Regions from separate parts of the Homo sapiens genome. Here regions 2 and 3 are each linked to region 1. The links are contacts of gene promoters, found by promoter capture Hi-C in blood cells and fetal thymus (Javierre and others, 2016). All regions are on one chromosome and are shown on one strand. Each heading gives the region's core, a stretch centred on a gene start or on the middle of the fragment in contact. The rest is flanking DNA. Distances are from core to core; before and after follow the strand shown.

What was found. Contacts are between HindIII fragments. The CHiCAGO score rates a contact against its expected background, and 5 or more counts as called.
Region 2: a fragment that was not itself captured here is called in contact with the fragment with the promoter of CD180 in region 1 in 2 of 17 cell types (total B cells and naive B cells); the score reaches 12.5 in total B cells.
Region 3: a fragment that was not itself captured here is called in contact with the fragment with the promoter of CD180 in region 1 in 10 of 17 cell types (total B cells, non-activated CD4 T cells, activated CD4 T cells and 7 more); the score reaches 17.6 in total B cells.

Annotation. Positions count from the first base shown.
Region 1 is chr5:67,195,503-67,198,202 of GRCh38, forward strand. It overlaps CD180 (CD180 molecule), which reads right to left and starts at 1,297. Exons shown (of 3, transcript NM_005582.3): 1 at 1,050-1,297. The coding sequence starts at 1,139. RefSeq lists an enhancer at 121-270. The HindIII fragment of the contact is 10,485 bases long and covers 1-2,700 here.
Region 2 is chr5:68,196,503-68,199,202 of GRCh38, forward strand. It overlaps LINC02219 (long intergenic non-protein coding RNA 2219), which reads left to right. Exons shown (of 3, transcript NR_105003.1): 3 at 1,688-1,905. Among named protein-coding and RNA genes, the nearest start is that of LINC02219, 8.0 kb to the left of the region's middle. The HindIII fragment of the contact is 1,030 bases long and covers 837-1,866 here.
Region 3 is chr5:68,245,892-68,248,591 of GRCh38, forward strand. All of the region lies in intron 2 of PIK3R1 (phosphoinositide-3-kinase regulatory subunit 1), which reads left to right. Among named protein-coding and RNA genes, the nearest start is that of PIK3R1, 31 kb to the left of the region's middle. The HindIII fragment of the contact is 6,788 bases long and covers 1-2,700 here.

The DNA.
Region 1 (2,700 bases), core at 47-2,546:
CACCACGCCTGGCCCAGTCTGTGGCATTTGTTATGACAGCCCAAGCAAAGCAACACACACCTTCCCAGCCTTCATTTCTCATTGGCATGATGCCTCCTCTTGGCCTGCTGCTGATTCCATCCTAATGCCAGACCAACAAGGCTCTGCTCACCCAGCTCTGAGCCTTACCCCAGTGCTGGCTTTGCTCTGCTCTTCCTGATCCTCTGATCTCCTTCTAGTCCTGCCCCAGGGCAACTCCACATCTGGCTATTCCTGGCTCTTACTCTTCTTTTTACCTCAACCCAGACCAGCAGCTCACCAAGCCACCAAGACTCATGGTTCCTCCTGTATGCAGCCCTTGTCTGACAGGCCACGTGGTATTGATCACTTGTGGGGTCAGAGAAAGTGGGAGGAAGTTTGAAGCATTTTAGAGGATGGCAAGAGACGGAGGCCCTTCTCCTTTTTCTCTCATTATCCCCTCCAAGAACTTCCCACAGGTTGATAAATATTGCTATGGTCCAAAACAGAAGGTGCAATTTGGCTCTATTCTCAGATTTTCCTCCTATGGGTTAGTAAAACAGATGGAAGGCTGTCCAAGTCCAAGAGAGAGCCAGACTCATTCAGAGTGATCTTTTCAATGCTCGAAAACCTGGCACAGCGCTGTCTTTACTAATTCTCACCCTGAGAGGAGACCAAAGGACTCATTGGGATAGAGGCCATGTGAGAGTGGGGATGTTAAACCAACAGCTCCCCTAGGTTGAGGCAGGTTTAGGGGTCTGCTTTGTGCACACAGACCCTATTAATATCTTATGACCCACTTGGGATTATTTGGGTGGAATTGTTTGAAGAGGAGAAAAATTCTCTTTGCTTCCTATTAAGATGCCACCAGATGATCCCCTGGCAGAGTTCTTTGGCTCCTTTCTCACAATAATGAAAAAATTATATATACACCTTATTTCCTTTTTAAAGACACTAGATATTGGGATGCCAAGGCTCAGATTGGACTGCGTGCTAAATCTCAAAATTTTCAGACAGTTTAATCTGCATAAAGACAAACAGTTTGGACTCACCTCAATGCACATCTGATCCCAGGAGGTGATGACTTTACAGCCGGCAGAAAACAGCACCACCCAAAAGAAGCAGCTGACGTCAAACGCCATCACAGGCTAGGATTGCTTGGTGGGTTTACCTAATGCTTGGAGCTGAGAAATGGAATCAAACTGTGAAGGCCCTGGCAATTTGGCAGCCAGAGAGGTACTCAGAAGGGTGATCTTGGAACAAGAAATGCTGTTGACTGCTCAGCATTCTGTGGCTCTGTGCTGGAAAAAAAAAAAAAAAAAAAAAAGGAAGTCCCTTTTGCATACCACCCATCTTTGCCAAAAATAACTGAGGACCCAACCCCAGAATGGCCCGTTGCATTTCCTGGCACTGAACATGAATCAGTTGTGCAGTCCTTTTGGGCTGATCACACAGACTCTCATTGTGATGGTTCCAATTGACTTTATGCCAACTTCAAGCATTTGGCCAACTCCAACAGCTTCTGGTCCTTTTCCCCGAGAGAGGCTGTGGAAGCTCTACTCACCAAGGAGGCCACTTTCTTAGTTGTCCTAGGTGAGTGAATAGAAGAGGTGTCAGAGAACATGGAAGGGCAGAGCACTCTGCAGGGGCAGACTGAAGAACTGAGCCCTTCAGTGGCACCTGCTGAGCTGGGAACTGGAGCAGGAGGGAGCAGGCTTGAGAGTGTATCTGCTCCTTGAGCCTCAGCTGCTGCCTTGGCCACCTTGTCCATCCCCACCTCTGGTCTTCGTATAGGGGGAAGATTACTTCATCTCTTGACCTGGCGGTTCAGGCTTGTTAAAGCAGTTGGGGTGGACTCTCTTGTTCCCTCCTAACCTGGCCTGGGGAAGTAGGGGACACTGCCATAGATAGAGCAGCCTGGCTAAAGGAGAGTAGAGTTAGGGATGCCAGCCTTGGCTCTATTTCTTCTTAGAAATAGCTTTGAAGCAGGATTACAATTACCCTTATTATGGAGCAAGATGTGGCAATGATTAAAGAAAGCCAAAGTTCAAACATTCCTCAATAGGCTGCATTTAGCTACCTGTTCTGTCTGTTCTTCAACCCTCTGGCATACAGGATATATTTGGTGTTACTGTTCTCCCACTCCATTTCCAAGAGCCCAGTTCTTAGTATCAGAGTTCACAATGACTTAACTACTGCTACTACTACTACTACCACCACCACCACCACCACCACCTCTACAGTATTACTATGATGAATCAAATGACTATAGTATCTGCCATTTATTGAGTCCTTACTATGTGTCAGACACTGGGTCAGGTTTAATGCAGTTTTTTGCTGCATTTTCCTATCCTCGAATATTTCCATATATTCTATAAGAGAGATATTATTATTTCCCTCATTTTATAGATGTAGAAACTGATGCTTAAGAGAAATTAAATGATCTCTCCAAGCCACACAATTAGAGAGTGGTAGATTAGGGCTTCAGATCCAGAAAATCTCACTGCAGAGACTATGCTGCTACTCTTCACAGTTTAAGAAAGGACTTTGCCTCCTGAAGGAGCTGAAGAGTAGATGGGGCGAAGAATGTTGTTCATCTGGAGATTTCAGAAAAGATGCTAAAAAGCAGAGGGGATTGGAGGAAATATGTACTTGGCAGTCTGCTAGGCCTGCTACACATATTTGGGCTTTTCCTGGTCACCC
Region 2 (2,700 bases), core at 102-2,601, 1.0 Mb after region 1:
TTTTAGGAGAGAGGGGGGTTTCTCCATGTTTACCAGGCTGGTCCCGAACTCCTGACCTCAGGTGATACACCCGCCTTGGCCTCCCAAAGTGCTGTGATTACAGGCATGAGCTACCACGCCTGGCCGGTGCTGAATTTTAATTCCTCAACCAGCTGGGCTACCCTCGGTAATACCCTCAGTAATCATTACCCTCCCCATCACGAACTGCTCACTTGATCACTCAACACATAGAGAGTCTCCTTCATTCCCAATGTAGAATAGAGAGCAGAGATAACAGTGGAGAGTAAAGGCAACATGGTCCCTGCCCTCACGGAGTTTATACTCTAGTGGGGAAGACAAACATTATTCAAAGAGTTACATATAAATATAAAACTATACTGTGACAAATGCCACAAGGAAAAGGTGCAGAGTTTGATGACCCCAGGACCTGGAATTTACCTAGTCAGAGAGATCAAGGAAGGCTTCCCTAAGGAAGTGGTGCAGAGCTGAGATCGGAAGAAGCAGGGATGTTCTCCACAGAAAGAACATGCTCAGAAGCCCAGTCAGCAGCAGGAAGGAGTGTGGTGATTTTGAGGAACCGAAAGAAGACCAGCATGGCTGGAGAACAGAGGATGGGGGTGTGATATGTGACGAGCGAAGAGAAGTAAGCGGGGGCAAGATTGTGTAAGCCTGTGATCAGGATTCTGGCCTGTATGCCTAGAGCAGTTATTTTCAACTTCGGCTACATGTCAGAACCACCTACAAAGCATTTTAAAATACTGATTAAAGGATCCCATTCCAGAACCATCAAATCCAAACTTCTGGAAGTGAGAACCAGGCATAAGTATTTTTTTTAAAGCTTTCAGGTGATTTTATCATGAAAACAAGGGTGAGAATCATTGACCTATAGCAATGAGAAGTCACTAAAATGTTTGAAGATAATATGTATGCTATGAATCTTTAGAGGGAGTTGGAAGCCATTTCCAGATTTACATTTCAAAAAGCATCCTCTGGCTAGAACCATGGAGTTATCAATGCTAGTGATTGAGAGTTCAAAAAGGAGACCAATTCAGTGACAACTATTTTTTTATTTTTATTTTTTTGAGATGGAGTTTCCCTCTTGTCATCCAGTCTGGAGTGCAATCTCACAATCTCGGCTCACTGCAACCTCTGCCTCCTTGGTTCAAGTGATTCTCCTGCCTCAGCCTCCCAAGTAGCTGGGATTACAGGCGCCTGCCACCACGCCCAGCTAGTTTTCACATTTTTAGTAGAGATGGGGTTTCGCCATGTTGGCCAGGCTGGTCTCAAACTCCTGACCTCAGGTTATCCACCCGCCTCGGCCTCCCAAAGTGCTGGGATTATAGACATGAGCCACTGTGTCTAGCCAGTGACTGCTATTGATAAATGGTGCAGGTGAGGATTAGGGTAGCATCAACGGAGATGAAAAACATACATATATTTACAAGATTTTTAGTTGGTTAAAACACTGAGACTGGCAGAATGATGAAATGATGGATTCTATAATGGGAAAAAAGAGAGCAAATGACTATCAGTGTTCTGCTCACACAAGATGGATAATTGTGCCACTTGTTGATACAGGGACGAGGACTAGAATCAGAAATGTTTAGAGTGAGGGTACGTTTTCATTTGGGCATGTGAGGTTTGCTTTCATTTTGTCATGCATGTTCTTTACCTCTCTTTTCTGTAGGTCACCCGTACTTCATTTACCAGTCCTTGCTAAGGATTATTCATTAAAACACACAACAGCAACAATAACCACAAAAGCAACAATAAAAATACCTTTGAACTCACTCAATCTTGAACTATTGAACATGCTAAGTCCGTGTCATTGGCCTACTTAATCAGCCCTCGATTGTAACTTGAAGAAGCTTATTGATAAGAAAATAAACTTCTCATAAAGTATAACTACTTTCTTAGCAAAACTATTTGTTTCATCTTCTCTTTAAAATTTTTGATATTATGTATTTCCTTTTTTTTTTTTTTTTTTGGAGACAGAGTCTTACTCTGTCACCTGGGCTGGAGTGCAGTAGTGTTATCTCGGCTCAATGCAACCTCCGTCTCCTGGGTTCAAGCAATTCTCCTGCCTCAGCCTGCCGAGTAGCTGGAATTACAAACACCCGCCACCACCCCCAGCTAATTTTTTGTATTTTTAGTGGAGACAGGGTTTCACCATGTTGGCCAGGCTGGTCTTGAATGCCTGACCTCAGGTGATCCATCCACCTCAGCCTCCCAAAGTGCTGGGATTACAGGCGTGAGCCACTGCACCCGGTCTATTATGTATTTCTGAAGATATTTAATGCCAAGTAACAGAAACCACACTCCAATGAGTTTAAACAAAAATAACATTATTATAAGAATATAAAGGTATCTTATGGAATATAAGAATAAATCTGTGGCTAGAGTTAAGGAAAAGCTAGAATCACGAACTCATGACTTCACAGTTCCCTCTCCCCAGCTCTTCTTCTCTTGTGCATCTGCTTTGTTTTTCTTTCTCTGTTCTCAGAAACTAGCTCCCATCACTTTTCTTCTTAACATGAACAAAAATATGACAAGTGACAGCTCCTGAGGTTTAAGCCCTAGAGCTCAGACATCAGAGGGAAACAATCTTAACTCTTTCAGTACAAAACCTAAAATCCTGGGGTAGAAACTCAAGTAGACTATCTGTCCTTCTTCAGACCAATCCACTGTAGCCAGGAAGTC
Region 3 (2,700 bases), core at 117-2,616, 1.1 Mb after region 1:
AGATTATTGCAGAATTACATAAGTTAGTAAGCATGGACTGACCAGTTCTTTCTAAGACACATACTTGAGTATTTATTCTCTTCAGTTGCAATGAAGGTGACAGTGAATTTGCTGAATAGCTGTGTACATGTTTCCCCAAAGAGACCACTGGAATAAAGTTTTGTTTCTTGAGACAGTTTCCATTGCATTTATAAGTCTTGTCCCTTGAAGGATGTTTTCTGGTAAACACCTGTATTCTTTTTACATTATATATCTTCATTACCGTACAAGTTTGGTTGTGAGCCATTCCAAAGTCTTTAGTATGCTGTATGGGTGTATTCTATACTTTATACCTTATTTGGAAGTCATAATAATGTCAAAACTATGCCTAGCCATCCCCTTCCCTGCAGAGTCTCTTTTGCTTTGTCCACTTGGTGTGTATATTTTTTTTTTTTTTTTTTGAGACAGAGTTTTACTCGTCGCCCAAGCCGCAGTGCAGTGGCGCGATCTCGGCTCGCTGCAACTTCTGCCTCCCGGGCCCAAGCGATTCTCCTGCCTTAGCCCCCCAGGTAGCTGAGATTACCGGTGCCCGCCACCACGCCCAGCTAATTTTTGTATTTTTAGTAGAGACAGGGTTTCACCATGTTAGCCAGGCTGGTCTGGAACGCCTGACCTCAAACGGTCCATCCGCTTCAGCCTCCCAAAGTGCTGGGATTACAGGCGTGAGCCACCGCGCCCGTCCATGTGTGTCTTTTTTATTTTTTGTTTTTTGAGACGGAGTCTCGCTCTGTCGCCCAGGCTGGAGTGCAGTGGTGCGATCTTGGCTCACTGCAAGCTCCGCCTCCTGGGTTCACGCCATTCTCCTGCCTCAGCCTCCCGAGTAGCTGGGACTGCAGGCGCCTGCCACCACGTTGTGTGTCTTTTTAAAAGATTTCCAGGACTTCTTTTTCCTTTACAAATCCAAAATTGCAGTAGCTTAATAAATAACAAATATTTTGGTTTTATGATTACTGTCAAATAGCTCATTAGTAAGAGAAAAAAAAAAATGCTGAGCCTTAAGAGGGGAGAGGAAAGGCAGTCTTTCTGAAGCTGAATCCTTTGCCTAAATTGTCTTAGCAATAAATCTTGCCACCTATTGGTAAAAAGGAAGAACTAAAACTAAAAGGTGTTTGCCGTTCTCACAGGTAGTTAGTAGTGTGATCGAAATAGAATTCTTTCAGCGGTGCTTTTGGATAAGGGGCTTGGAAATATGTGATTTGATATGGAACTTTTCCCTGTGCTTTGAATTTATCATGGCTCATCTCTAAGTCATAATAGTTTTTTGAGTAGAGGAGGTATGCTGCTCTCATGGTCTCTCTTAAAATTATATTTTTTGAGATAGAATTCCATTTTAATAGATCAGTGGATTTTAATTGGACACATTTTAGAGGCTTGATTGATTTTGAAAACATTTTTCTTTTTTCTTTCTTTCTGTCTTTCTGCCTTTCTTTCCACCACGGCTAACTGCAGTCTGAACCTCCTGTGCTCAGTTGATCCTCCCGCCTCAGCCTCCTGAGTAGCTGGGACTACAGGCGTGCGCCACCATGCCTGGCTAATTTTTCTGTAGAGATGGGGTTTCACCATGTTGCCTAGGCTGGTCTCAAGTGATCTGTCTGCCTCAGCCTCCTAAAGGGCTAAAATTATAGGTGTGAGCCACTGCACGTGGCCTTTTTTTTTTTTTTTTCTTGAGACAGGGTCTTCCTCTGTCACTCAGGCTGGAGTATAGTGGCATCAACATGGCTCACTGTAGCCTTGACATCTTGGGGTCACCTGATCCTCCTACCTCAGCCTCTGGTGTAGCTGGGACTACAGGCTGAAAACATTTTTCTAACTCTGTTGTTAGTTTGGGCTTTCCTTCATTCCAGCCTCTGAAATCCATTATTTCCTGCCCAACGGGACAGGCCAGTGGTGACGTTGGCCTTTGGTGCCAGGGCCTGTTTTTCCAGATCATGGGCACCATACAAAGATAACTGCCCTAAACGGCATCATTGCCCCAGAGTCATTGAATGTCCTTAAGGTGCATTTGATAAAACAAAAACAGTTTTTTGTTTTGAAAATTCTCAAGTATTTCCATACTGGGAAAATGTTCTTTTTTTTTTTTTGACAGGGTCTTGCTCTGCTGCCCAGGCTGGAGTGCAGTGGCGGGATCTCAATTCACTGCAACCTCTGCATCCTGGGTTCAAGCAATTCTCCTGCCTCAGCTGGGACCACCGGCACATGCCACTAAGCCCGGCTAATTTTTGTATTTTTAGTAGAGATGGGGTTTTGCCATGTTGGCCAGACTGGTCTTGAACTCTTGACCTCAAGAGTGACCCATCTGCCTCGGCCTCCGAGAGTGCTGGGATTACAGGCATGAGCCACCATGCCTGGCCAACAATGTTCTTTTTAATGGTGTTTTCCCCACTATCTGGATAGATATATGAATTCAGTTACTAAGATGACTTAGATTTAAATATAAAACACTAGCATAGCAGTTTTTGATTCTTAATATTATCTTAAATCCACCTCCCCTCATTGTCCTCTGTATCTAAACACCCTTCAATTCTTGAGAAAATTAAGATTACCAAAGATTAGTAATCTATTTGTGATTGTGTGTGTTGGTGGACATCCTAACAAATTTATGAATAAAGCCAATACTGTTTTGTTAGTGTCCTTATTTTTTCTTTACGTCTGTTCATATTT